Linked DNA regions of Homo sapiens: region 1 is linked to region 2. The links are contacts of gene promoters, found by promoter capture Hi-C in blood cells and fetal thymus (Javierre and others, 2016). All regions are on one chromosome and are shown on one strand. The core of a region is centred on a gene start or on the middle of the fragment in contact, and the rest is flanking DNA. Distances in the headings are between cores, read along the strand shown. Region 1 overlaps ACBD6 (acyl-CoA binding domain containing 6). Region 2 holds the start of LHX4-AS1 (LHX4 antisense RNA 1).

Region 1 (5,310 bases), core at 950-3,449, 110 kb before region 2:
CCAACATGGCACATGTATACATATGAAACTAACCTGCACGTTGTGCACATGTACCCTAAAACTTAAAGTATAATAATAAAAAAAAATTGCATTGAATCTATAGATCAGCTTGGGGAATAGTACCATCTTAAAATATTAAGTCCATGAATACATGATGCCTTCCCATTTATTTAGGTCTTATTTAATTTCTTTCATTTGATGTTTTATAGTTTTCAGTGTACAAGTCTTACACTTCTTTTGTTAAATTTATTACTAAGTATTTTATGTTTTTAATGTTATAAATGAAATTGTTTTCTTCATTTCCTTTTCTGATTGTTCATTTTTAATGTATAGAGATACAATTAATTTTTGGCCAGGCATGATGGGTCACACCTGTAATCCCAGCACTTTGGAAGGCCAAGGCAGGAGGATCACTTGAGGCCAGGAGTTTGAGACTGGCCTGGGCAACATAGTGACTCTGTATTGCTACAAAAATTAAAAAAAAAAAAATTGATCTGTGTTTATTGATCTGTATCCTGCATTCTTTCTGAATGCTTCTATTAGTTCTGACAGTTTGTTAGTGGATTCCTTATAATTTTTATATACAAGATTATATCATTGGCAAATAGAGATAGTTGTATTAGCTGCATAAAACCAGATGGGAAATACTCCTTTATTCTCTGAAAGAGTGCATTTAAGATTAGTATTAACTATTCTTTAATGCTTAGATGAGGGGTCTTCAGTTCCTGATAAGACTTATTTCTGCCTGTTCTTCCTATTCAGTTCAGATTTAAAACCCTGGACATACACAGCAAATAAACATAAGAAGACTAAAGGGTTAGAAGAAGAGAGCTGACTGACTAGGGACCTCAAGAATTGAGAAATGACCCTGTGGTGATTTCTCTGGGTTTTCTTTTTCTTTTTTTTTTTTTTTTTGAGACGGAGTCTCGCTCTGTCACCCAGGCTGGAGTGCCGTGGCGCGATCTTGGCTCACTGCAAGCTCCGCCTCCTGGGTTCACGCCATTCTCCTGCCTCAGCCTCCCGAGTAGCTGGGACTACAGGTGCCCACCATCACGCCCGGCTAATTTTTTTGTATTTTTAGTAGAGACGGGGTTTCATCATGTTAACCAGGATGGTCTCAATCTCCTGACCTTGTGATCTGCCCGCCTCGGCCTCCCAAAGTGGTGGGATTACAGGTGTGAGCCACCGTGCCCGGCTTCTCTGGGTTTTCTTTTTGTTTCTTTATAAGCTGAAGTGGGCTCTGGAGAAGCCCACAACCCAGAAATACCAATGGGTGCAGATAAGAAAAGCCTGTTATCTCTTGCCAAAGGACAGGAAAAGGGGCAATCTAAAAGAACAGAACTTTTCAACAACAATACCACCCTACCCCAGCCAAATACATGGAGGAAGAATATGCCACCCCCTTGCTTGGAGGCTGAAAGGGAAGCCTACACATCCTCTGGCTGGTGGTAGCAAGCAGTGCTTCTCTTCCCCATCAAGGTGTTATCAACAGATGCTGAATGAGTACCCTGAGCTTTCAGTTCCTGCCCAGTGGTAGCAGGGAGTGATTTCCTTTCCTCACCAGGGTGGTGCCAGAAGAGGCCAAATGGGAAGCCTAGACTTTCATCTCCTGCCCAGAGGTAGCAGATGATACTCCCCTTCTGTCGTAAGTGTGGTGTCAGTGGAGACCAAGTGGTAAGCTTGGATATCCATCACCTCCCACCCTGGAATTAAAAGCAATAATAAGGTAGTACTTCTCCCCTTCCCAAATAGGGAGTGATGGTGTGGGGGAGAATTTTAGAGAGGAGGGAGCTGGAGAAAGCAATGCTTTAAACTTGTATGTAGAGTCCTGGAAAGAACCCAGAGTGACTCGTACATTATACTGACCAAAATTAACATGACAGAAGGGTTGAGAACTGAACTACAGTGTGGAATAGTGCCTACATTTTCACATTGACCTCTAAGTAGCACACAAGCAAGGCAGACCCAAATAGTACTGTAAGGGCTCTGAAAATGAAATTATTATTGGAACTACAACTCCTAAAAGTAGATCAGGAGCTGCACAAGAAACCCAAATAGAGAAACTGCCTGCTAAACTAGAAGATTTAAATAGAATACAGATACGCATACTCAAAACTGAAAATTACTCATCATACCAAGAACCTGGGAAATCACAACTCGAATGGTAAAAGGAGGTCAATATACGCCAAACAGTGAGATGGTGAAATTATCTGACAAAGATTTTAGAGCAGTCATCATAAAAATGTTTCAATGAGTAGTTACAAACATTCTTGAAACAAGTGGAAAAAACAGAAAATCTCAGCAAAGGAATAAGAGATCTAAAAAGGAACTAAATAGAAATTATAGAATTGCAAATATAATAGCTGAAATAAAAATTCACTGGATGCACTCAATACTAGATGGAAATGATAAAAAGATCAGTGAACTTAAAGCAATAGAAAGTATATAATTTGAATAACAGAGAGAAGTAGATGGAAAAGAAATTAACAGAGGCTCCAGGACTGTGGGACAATTGTAAAAGATCTAACTTTTTTTGTCATCAGAGTGCTAGAAGGAGAGGAGAAAGAGTGTGGAACTACAAGAAATATTCGAAGAGTTACTGGCTGAAAACTTCCCAAATTTGATAAAAGGCATAAACCTATAGATTTGAGAAGCTGAGAGAACCATAGACAGATATACCTGACAAAATCCACAGCAAGACACATTAAAATCAAGCTTTGGAAAATTAATGAGAAAAAAACAACAACAACATTGAAAGCAGTTAGAAGGAAAAAGTACACTGCAGATGCTCCTCAACTTATGATGGGCTTACATCCTGATAAACCCATCATAAGTTGAAAATATCATAAGTTGAAAATACACTTAATACACCTAACTTATCTCATAGCTTAACTACTGAATGCGGTTTTTGTTTGTTTTTTGAGACAGTGTCTAGCTCTGTCGCCCAGGCTGGAGTGCAGTGGTGCAATCTTGGCTCACTGCAACCTCTGCCACTTGGGTTCAAGCTATTCTCCAACCTCAGCCTCTAGAGTAGCTGGGGCTACAGGTACGCACCACCATGCCTGGCTAATTTTTGTATTTTTAGTAGAGACAGGGTTTCACCATGTTGGCCAGGCTGGCCTCAAACTTCTGACCTCAAGTGGTCCACCCGCCTCGGCCTCCCAAAGTGCTGGGATTACAGGTGTGAGCCATTGCGCCCAGCCTTTTCTATCCTTTTACTTGTACCCTATGTGTATGTGTTAGTCTACTTGGTCCGCTGTAACAAAATACACAGACTGAATAGCATAAACAACAGACATTTATTCCCACAGTTCTGGAGGTTCTAAATCAAAGATAAAGGCGCCAACAGGGTTGATTTCTGGTGAGGCCTCTCAACTTGGCTTGTAGATAGCCACCATCTTGCTGGGTCCTCACGGGCCTTTCCTCTGTGCTCATATATGGAGAGATCTCTAGTGTCTCTCTCTCTTCTTGTAAGGGAACCAGCCCTATCACGTTAAGGCCCCACCTTTATAACCTAATTTGACCTTAATTAGCTCTTTAAAGGCCCTATTTCTAAATATAGTCATATTGAGTGTTAGGGCTTCAACATAGGAATTGGGTGTGGGGGAGCACAATTTAGTCCATAACACTGTATCTTTATATTTAAGGCATGTCTCTTATAAACAGTGTGTAGTTGGGTTTTGGTCTTTATCTAGTATGATAATCTTTGTCTTTTAATTGCAGTGTTTAATTCATTTACATTTAATGTAATTACTGGTATGGTTGTGTTTAAGTCTACCAGCTTGCTATTTGTTTTCTGTTTGTCCCATCTGCTCTGTTTCTCTATTTTTTTCTTTCCTGACTTCTTTTGTGTTTATAAGTATTTTGTTGCATGTATAGAATGTGTAATGATCAAGTCAGGGTATTTGGGGTATCCATAACCTGGAGAACATTTCAGGTTCTCTCTTCTAACTGCCTTGAAATATACAATGCGTTGTTGCTAACTGTAGTAAAAGCCCTACTCTGCTATGAAACATTATACCTTCTATCTAACTGTATGTTTATACCTATTGATCAAACTCTTTTCATCACTACCTCCCACCAGCACACTTTTTCCAGCCTCTGGTATCAGTCCTTCTACCCACTACCTTCATGAGATCAACTTTTTTAGCTCCTACATATGAATGAGAACATGTAAAATTCGTCTTTCTGTGTCTGGCTTATTTCACTTGACATAAGGGCCTCCAGTTCTATCCACATTGCTGCAAATGTCATGATTTCATTCTTCTTCATAGCTGACTAGTATTCCATTGTGTATGCATACCACATTTTCTTTATCCATTCATCTGTAGATGGACACTTCAGTTGATTCCATATCTTTGGTATTGTGAATAGTGCTACAGTGAACATCAAAGTGCAGGTGTACCTTTGATACACTTATTTCTTTTCCTTTAGATAAATACCCAGTAGTGCGATTGCTGAAGTGTATGTTAGTTCTGTTTTTAGTTTTTTATGAAATCTTCATACTGTTGCCCCATAGTGGCTGTACTAATTTACATTCTCACTAACCATGTATAAGAGTTTTTCTCTGCATCCTTGCCAGCATCTGTTAATTTTTAATCTTTTAATAATAACCATTCTAACTGGGATAAGATGGTATCTCGTGGTCTTGATTTACATTTCCCTGATGATTAGTGATGTTAAGCATTTCTTTCATGTAGCTGTTAGCTATTTGTTTGTCTACTTTTGAGAAATGTCTATTCACATCCTTTACTCATTTTTTAATAGGATTATTATTTTTTTAACTATTGAATGGTTTGAGTTTCTTGTATATTCTGGATATTAGTCCCTTGTCAGATAATTTGCAGATATTTCTTCACATTCTATAGGTTGACTCTTTACTCTTTTGATTGTTTGCTGTGCAGAAGCTTTGTAGTTTAATATAGTCTCATTTAGCTATTTTTGTTTTTTTTTTTTAATCTCTGCTTTCAAAGTCTTAGCCATAAAACCATTGTCTAGACCAAGTTCCCTATGTTTTCATCTAGTAGTTTTATAGTTGCAGGCCTTGTATTTAGGTATTTGATTCATCTTGAGTTGATTTTTATATATGGTGAGAGATGGGGATCCAGTTTATTCCCTTGCATATGGATATCCAGTTTTTCCAGCACCATTTATTGAAAAGGATGGCCTTCCCTCAATGTATATTCTTGGCATCTTTGTTGAGTATCAGTTGACTCTAAATACCTAGATTTACTTCTGGATTCCCTATTCTGTTCCACTGGTCTGTGTGTCTGTTTTTATACCAATACCATGCTTTCTTGGTTACTATAG
Region 2 (5,526 bases), core at 1,662-4,161:
TCCATGGTTTCATTACGTTCCAACAAACAGAGATTCCTCCATAGCCCCTCAGTTTCCATTTTGCTTATACCAGTTACCACTGGAACTTGGGGTTTTAACTAATTTGCTCCTGGATTCAAGAGCTTCCTACTCTAAAGTCGACCAGCCAGGCACTGCAGATAATGGTTGCCTCTAGAAGGTCTCATTTCATTTTTAAAATTCATCCATGTCATTTTAGCAAGGGGGGAAACAGCTACCATGTAGCACCTTATACCCCATAATAGACTTCCAAGCAACAGAGGAGTGCCTCTAAGAGAAGCTAAAAGTAATGAATGCCCGGCTTTTCTCCATTTCCAAACCCCAGAAGAGTCCTGTCATGCAATGGCTCATTAGTGGCACCAGCCCACCCATAATGCTAACCCAACCTGTAGGGAGATCCATTTAAAATCTTAGACCTACTGTGGCTGTGCTTCTAAACAGGCAGCAGTGTTTGCTGCTTTCTGGGGAGGTGGCTCTGGAAAACAAAGCTCTCCTGGTTTTCAGGCCAGTGCTCTCAAGGGTTTTTCCAGCTAACCAGCCCTACTGATGCCAAAGAACTATTGACCTCGTCAACTGCTCACTGAGTTCCTCAAGAGATTTATTATATTATTAGTATAAATGAGGAAGGCCTCTCCTTCCACTATTGAACTGGGAATTAGTATGATTAACTTACAAAAACTGGTCAACTTACTTACAGTGATCTTAAACAGTGCTACACAGAGGAGGATGCCCCCCCCCCTTTTAAAAAGCCTGCTCTCCCCCACACTATACTCACCAAAAACTTCAAGGGCCTCTGAAATCCCATGAGTTGCTAAGCCAAATAGTCAACCTGCAACAGTGATCTGGGTGGGCAGCTTTTCATCTGGTTCATTGCCCAGCAGAGCCTTTTCTCCTGTGTATTTTAAGCAGCCTGCTAAGAAGGGTGTATTTAAAAAGCCATCCTCCAAAAAGACGACTGCATTTTCCTTTCCTCACATGGCATTTGTGTCTTCCTCCCCACCCCAGTGTTCATGATTGGAGAATTCCCAATAGCACAGAATTGGCTAGGATTAACACAACATCATCCATAAACATGGAACCTCAAGAGAAGTGTCTATGTTTGCAGACTTCTCAAGCAAAAATCATGACCACTGCAGCACACCAAAAAACGAGGGTACGCTATAAAATTGGTCAGAGAAGAGGGCCCGAAGGCTGATCCCGGAATTTACTGTTTTAAAGAACTTACTTAATTGAACTTAGTTTAGTCCTGGAAAAGGGCTTACAAAAGATGTAGCAGTCCAAGAGGAACTGTGTATTCTTCCTTTAGTCTGCCTATGACATGCCTAAGTCTTTGCAGTCCTCAAAAGGTGACCAACCATTCGTAGAAGGAAGGGTCCTTAGGGTCTCTGGCCCCATCACTTCATGTGATAGGCAATGCCTTCTCACCCTTTCCTACTCTGCTGATCTCATTTAAGAGAATGGGAGGCCAGAAGAAGCAAACACAGCTTCCCAGAGGGACAGGAATAAATTCCAGCTGGCTAAATTCCAGTTTGCACATGGAGAGCTTCCTGATGGTAGATGGGTGCACAAGGTGGGTGGGAGCTGCAGCACCATTCAGGACAGCGTTTCCCACAGCAGTGCAGTCTGTCGCAGGAGTGGCAACTCGTAAAGCGGGGGTTGGCCTTGCTCTGGCCTCAGGCTTAGTGATTTGCTACTGCAAACCTGCACAACGGGGAGTCCCTGCACCACCACTGGCCAGAGAGTTCTGGCTTTCTGACCATGGGACTGCAGCCCAAGGCATGGCAGGTGTCCAGCCAGCAATCCAGAGAGATGCAGCCCAAGAACCACTTAGAACCCTTTGGACAATTTTAGGGCTGCTCCCTAAATTACTCTTCCCAACCAAGGTAGGCCAAAAAAAAATTGCTGGTTCCTGGAAATGACCAAAACTGTCCTCCAATTGAGTCAGCTAGGACAGCAGAGAAAGCTTTCAGAGGGGTAGACTTGCAAGCTCATCTAAACCAACTCCTTCAAAACAGACTCCAAATATTTCACCCTACAAGGGATGGGGAACTCTGGAAGACTGGCATCAGCCGATATGGCTGAACAGACTGCAGGTTTGGAATCCAAATGTGTCTACAAATGTTCACTGATTGATTGTCATTTTGTTCTCCCCACATTTTAGTTTTGCTCATTTTACAGCCCACAGCCTGTCTTGTGGAATAAATGATACAAGCAATTGAAGAAGGCACACTGTGCACCAAGGGGACGACTCAGGCAATCTGCAGCGGTGGTCCAGGGCTACTCAGCTCAGCCTCAGTCACCTGCAATGAAAACCACCTCTTGCCATCAGAGTCAATGATATAGATGGGACACTTAAAAACCAAAACAGGTTCATATTCTCTGGTTTGTAGGAAAGAATTCATATCTTCACAGCAAAAATAAAAAAGGAGGGGGCATGTTTTTAATATCAAACTGGCCATCAAAGTGTTCACTGACCTTTAATAACTGATCTTTTCATTTTGAAATATAGGGTTCAATAAGGATGGTCCAGAAATCACTTTTATTTTACTCAAGGGCTGTGAGGCCTCTACCTTAGGAGTCTCAGTTCTGGTGAGAGCAGTGTTTTGGGAGGCATTGTGTGAGACACACCAGTTGGAGCAAAGTTCCCAAAGGCCAAGGGGGCCTATCACAGTCACCTTGTGCTACCAAAGCACTGAGCAGCCAAGCCCCTAAGCAGAACAGCAGGGGAGAGACCCAACAAGCCAGTGTCCCTAGAGCTCTAGGCCATTACCCCCTGTGCTGTGTTCTGAGATGAGTCTGCTCTCCCACTGCTTCCCCAGGGAAACAATGCCCTAGTGTGGTCTCACAGCCTTCTAGGAATCAGCGGAGGACTTCCATTGAAAATAATGGAAATTCACATTGGCGTACTTTCGATCCTTAAAAGGCAAGTCTCTTTTGATCCTTGAAGATATTCTCTCAAGCCAGGGGGGCAGGTAGGGTGGGGAGGAGAGAAGTTTAAAAAGGAGGATGATCCATTTCATCGAGCCAAGAGCCTGGGCTAGTTGGAAAGTCGGGATAGCCTACACTGCTTCCTGTGGAGATGTCAGAGGTGGGTCCCCCAGCCATGGCTCTCAGCGTCTGGCTTACTCCCTGCCCTGCATGCGCAATGATGCCCAAATTACTGTCCACCGTGTAATCCAGCCCATTGAGCAAAGGAGCGTGGGATGGCAGGGACGATATGGAGGATGGAGACTGGGGGATTCCATAGGGGCTCCCATCCCTCAAGTCCTGATAGGATTGTCCTGTCCCGTCCATGGAGAAGCTCCCATTCATTAACTGTCCGCCTGTAACGTCCCCCACGTTGCCATAAATCCTATTGGTGTGGCCAAGTTCTGAGAGAATTTGATCCTCTGTGGACAAAAGAACGGAGATTTATTGTCAGCTGCCAGGACTCTGATGGTCCCCTGCTCTTCACAACCTAGGAACACACATGACCAGGAAAGATGCCCAAGGATGGCAGCTGCCTTGCAGCCAAGCATGGGTCAGACACACCAATATGGCAGCCTGATATCCAGAGGCCAACCCAGGCCAAGGAGAAAAACAAGAAACACCTGCAAAGACTAAATTCCCAGGTCCCAGAAGGATGGACAAATGTTTGGTGAGCTCGTTGGTCCCTTGTGGCTCGTGTACTAATACTCTGGCTACACTGAGGAGGATGAATGCCTAAGGCTGGGTGGGTCAGATGTCTCCACATCACAAATGGAAACTACATGCTGACAACATTTACCCTGAAAGCTTTCAAGCTGAGAAAGGGCTTGGTTTAGTTGATTGGGAAGCAAGCAGGCCCATATGGTCAGGGAAGCTGAGGACCACTCTTAGACATCTGTACAAAATCCTTCTGGTCTATCTGGAAGAGAGGTTCAATATCAAAGGACTTGGTTTCTGTCTGTATTCAATAAGCTCTTCACTGGGGACAAAGAATTGACTTGATTAAGGCAAATGAACCTTCTTTTTTCTTAAAGAATTTCATTAAGGGGATCTAATGGAATCTTTGCCACTTGAAAGAATTTCTCTCTCCAACAGAGGTGAGCAGTTTTAGTCTTTGAGAAATTATTCCCAGAGAAACCAATGATAGGTCAGCCCAGGGACCCACCTGCACCCAACAGAAATGAGCTTAACAATCCAGTATGTTCTAGGTGTTGACTTCAACAGCCCAGATGAGATTGACTTTCCCAATCCTGCCAAGAAGCCTAAAAGGTGAGTATTAGTCCCATGAGCTGTCCCCAAGGCCTCACGGGCCCTGTGTTCTCAGAGGAGGCTGCCCTCTAGGGCTCAGCTGACCTCTGGGCTGAACTAGAGTCCTCCCAGGGCATCGTTGTCCTGGCAGGCAACTTGTTCCATCCTCTGTCCCACAAACTTCCTTTTCTATTTCCACCTGGGCCTCTGCACCAATCCCTAAATAAGGCCTCCCCAGACTAGACTTCAACACCCCATCCCTTCTGAGGCCTGCCCCCCATTCCCCTTATGAAAAAACATGGTGGGGGGAGCTCATGCTCTTTAAAGGGAGCAGGAAGATGAAGGCTCCACTCCATTGTCAAATGGCCATGAGTTAGCCTTTTCCCTATACCTGTCATCCCAAATGACCAGGGCCCTCTGCGGGAGCCACACGCTCCCTGTGGGAACGATCATGCCTTCCAGGTATACAAATGTGCCAGGCTTTCCCCAAGCACATCCACAGTTGGTTGTGTTCATTGATCCCCACAACGCAGTGAGATGGGCAAAGATATGGTATTCCTCTTGGGAATACTGGGGCTCAAGAGAAGTGAATCGATTTGACAGAGCTGCACTGGAAACCAGGTCTCTGATCGCCAGTTGAGTACTCTTCCCTTTCCCCCTCCGCAGAAGACCTTCCACATTTGAGAACTCAGTACCTGAGAACAGTTATGATTCTTTGCAAACAACCTGAGGATTCATAACATGCAGTAATTTACAATTTTGCTGATGCATGAATTTGAATATAGTGCATGCTGCAAAGCTTGTGTGCAGGGGACAGAATGAAGTGAGTGGTGGGGAAAGGGATTTCGGAAGTGAAGCCAGTTCCCCATCTCACATGCACTCACAGTACTGATTTCCCAGGAAAAAACCTGTGGAGCATGACCTCCCCACCACCAGGACTGGAGGAAGGGGTGGCTCTAGGGGACTATGGGAGTAGGCCAGTGTCCCAGCAAAGGGGACAAAGATGGGAGAGGGGCTAGGGGCACAAGGCTGGAACCCAGTCATCTGTTCATAGCTGTGTGGGCTGATGAGGGAGGCCCCAGTCAGCAGGAGGGGAGGGGAGACCTTGGGGCCACAGGACGGGGCCTGGCCCATCCCAGCTTCCAGACCTCAGCAATCTTGTTTCCTACTCCTGTCCCATGGTAAAGGGCCACTACCATTTCCCCCACCCTTCACTGCAAGTCTTAAGGAAAAGCCTGTGTTCAGGAGGGAGTTGCCAAGGCCTCAAGAAAGATCCCTCCTGAGTGCCAGGGA

Evidence for each region. Contacts are between HindIII fragments. The CHiCAGO score rates a contact against its expected background, and 5 or more counts as called.
Region 1: a contact is called between a fragment that was not itself captured here and the fragment with the promoter of LHX4-AS1 in region 2, in 5 of 17 cell types (M1 macrophages, neutrophils, M2 macrophages and 2 more). The highest score is 6.6, in M1 macrophages.

Annotation. Positions count from the first base shown.
Region 1 is chr1:180,383,781-180,389,090 of GRCh38, reverse strand. All of the region lies in intron 6 of ACBD6 (acyl-CoA binding domain containing 6), which reads left to right. Among named protein-coding and RNA genes, the nearest start is that of MIR3121, 52 kb to the left of the region's middle. RefSeq lists enhancers at 1,642-1,701, 1,813-1,892. The HindIII fragment of the contact is 1,036 bases long and covers 1,682-2,717 here.
Region 2 is chr1:180,272,066-180,277,591 of GRCh38, reverse strand. LHX4-AS1 (LHX4 antisense RNA 1) reads left to right here and starts at 2,911. Exons shown (of 5, transcript NR_037642.1): 1 at 2,911-2,941; 2 at 3,480-3,655; 3 at 4,194-4,254; 4 at 4,900-4,979. It overlaps LHX4 (LIM homeobox 4), which reads right to left. Exons shown (of 6, transcript NM_033343.4): 6 at 1-3,407. The coding sequence ends at 3,013. It also overlaps a transcript of ACBD6 not described here. RefSeq lists an enhancer at 5,151-5,526. The HindIII fragment of the contact is 1,811 bases long and covers 1,984-3,794 here.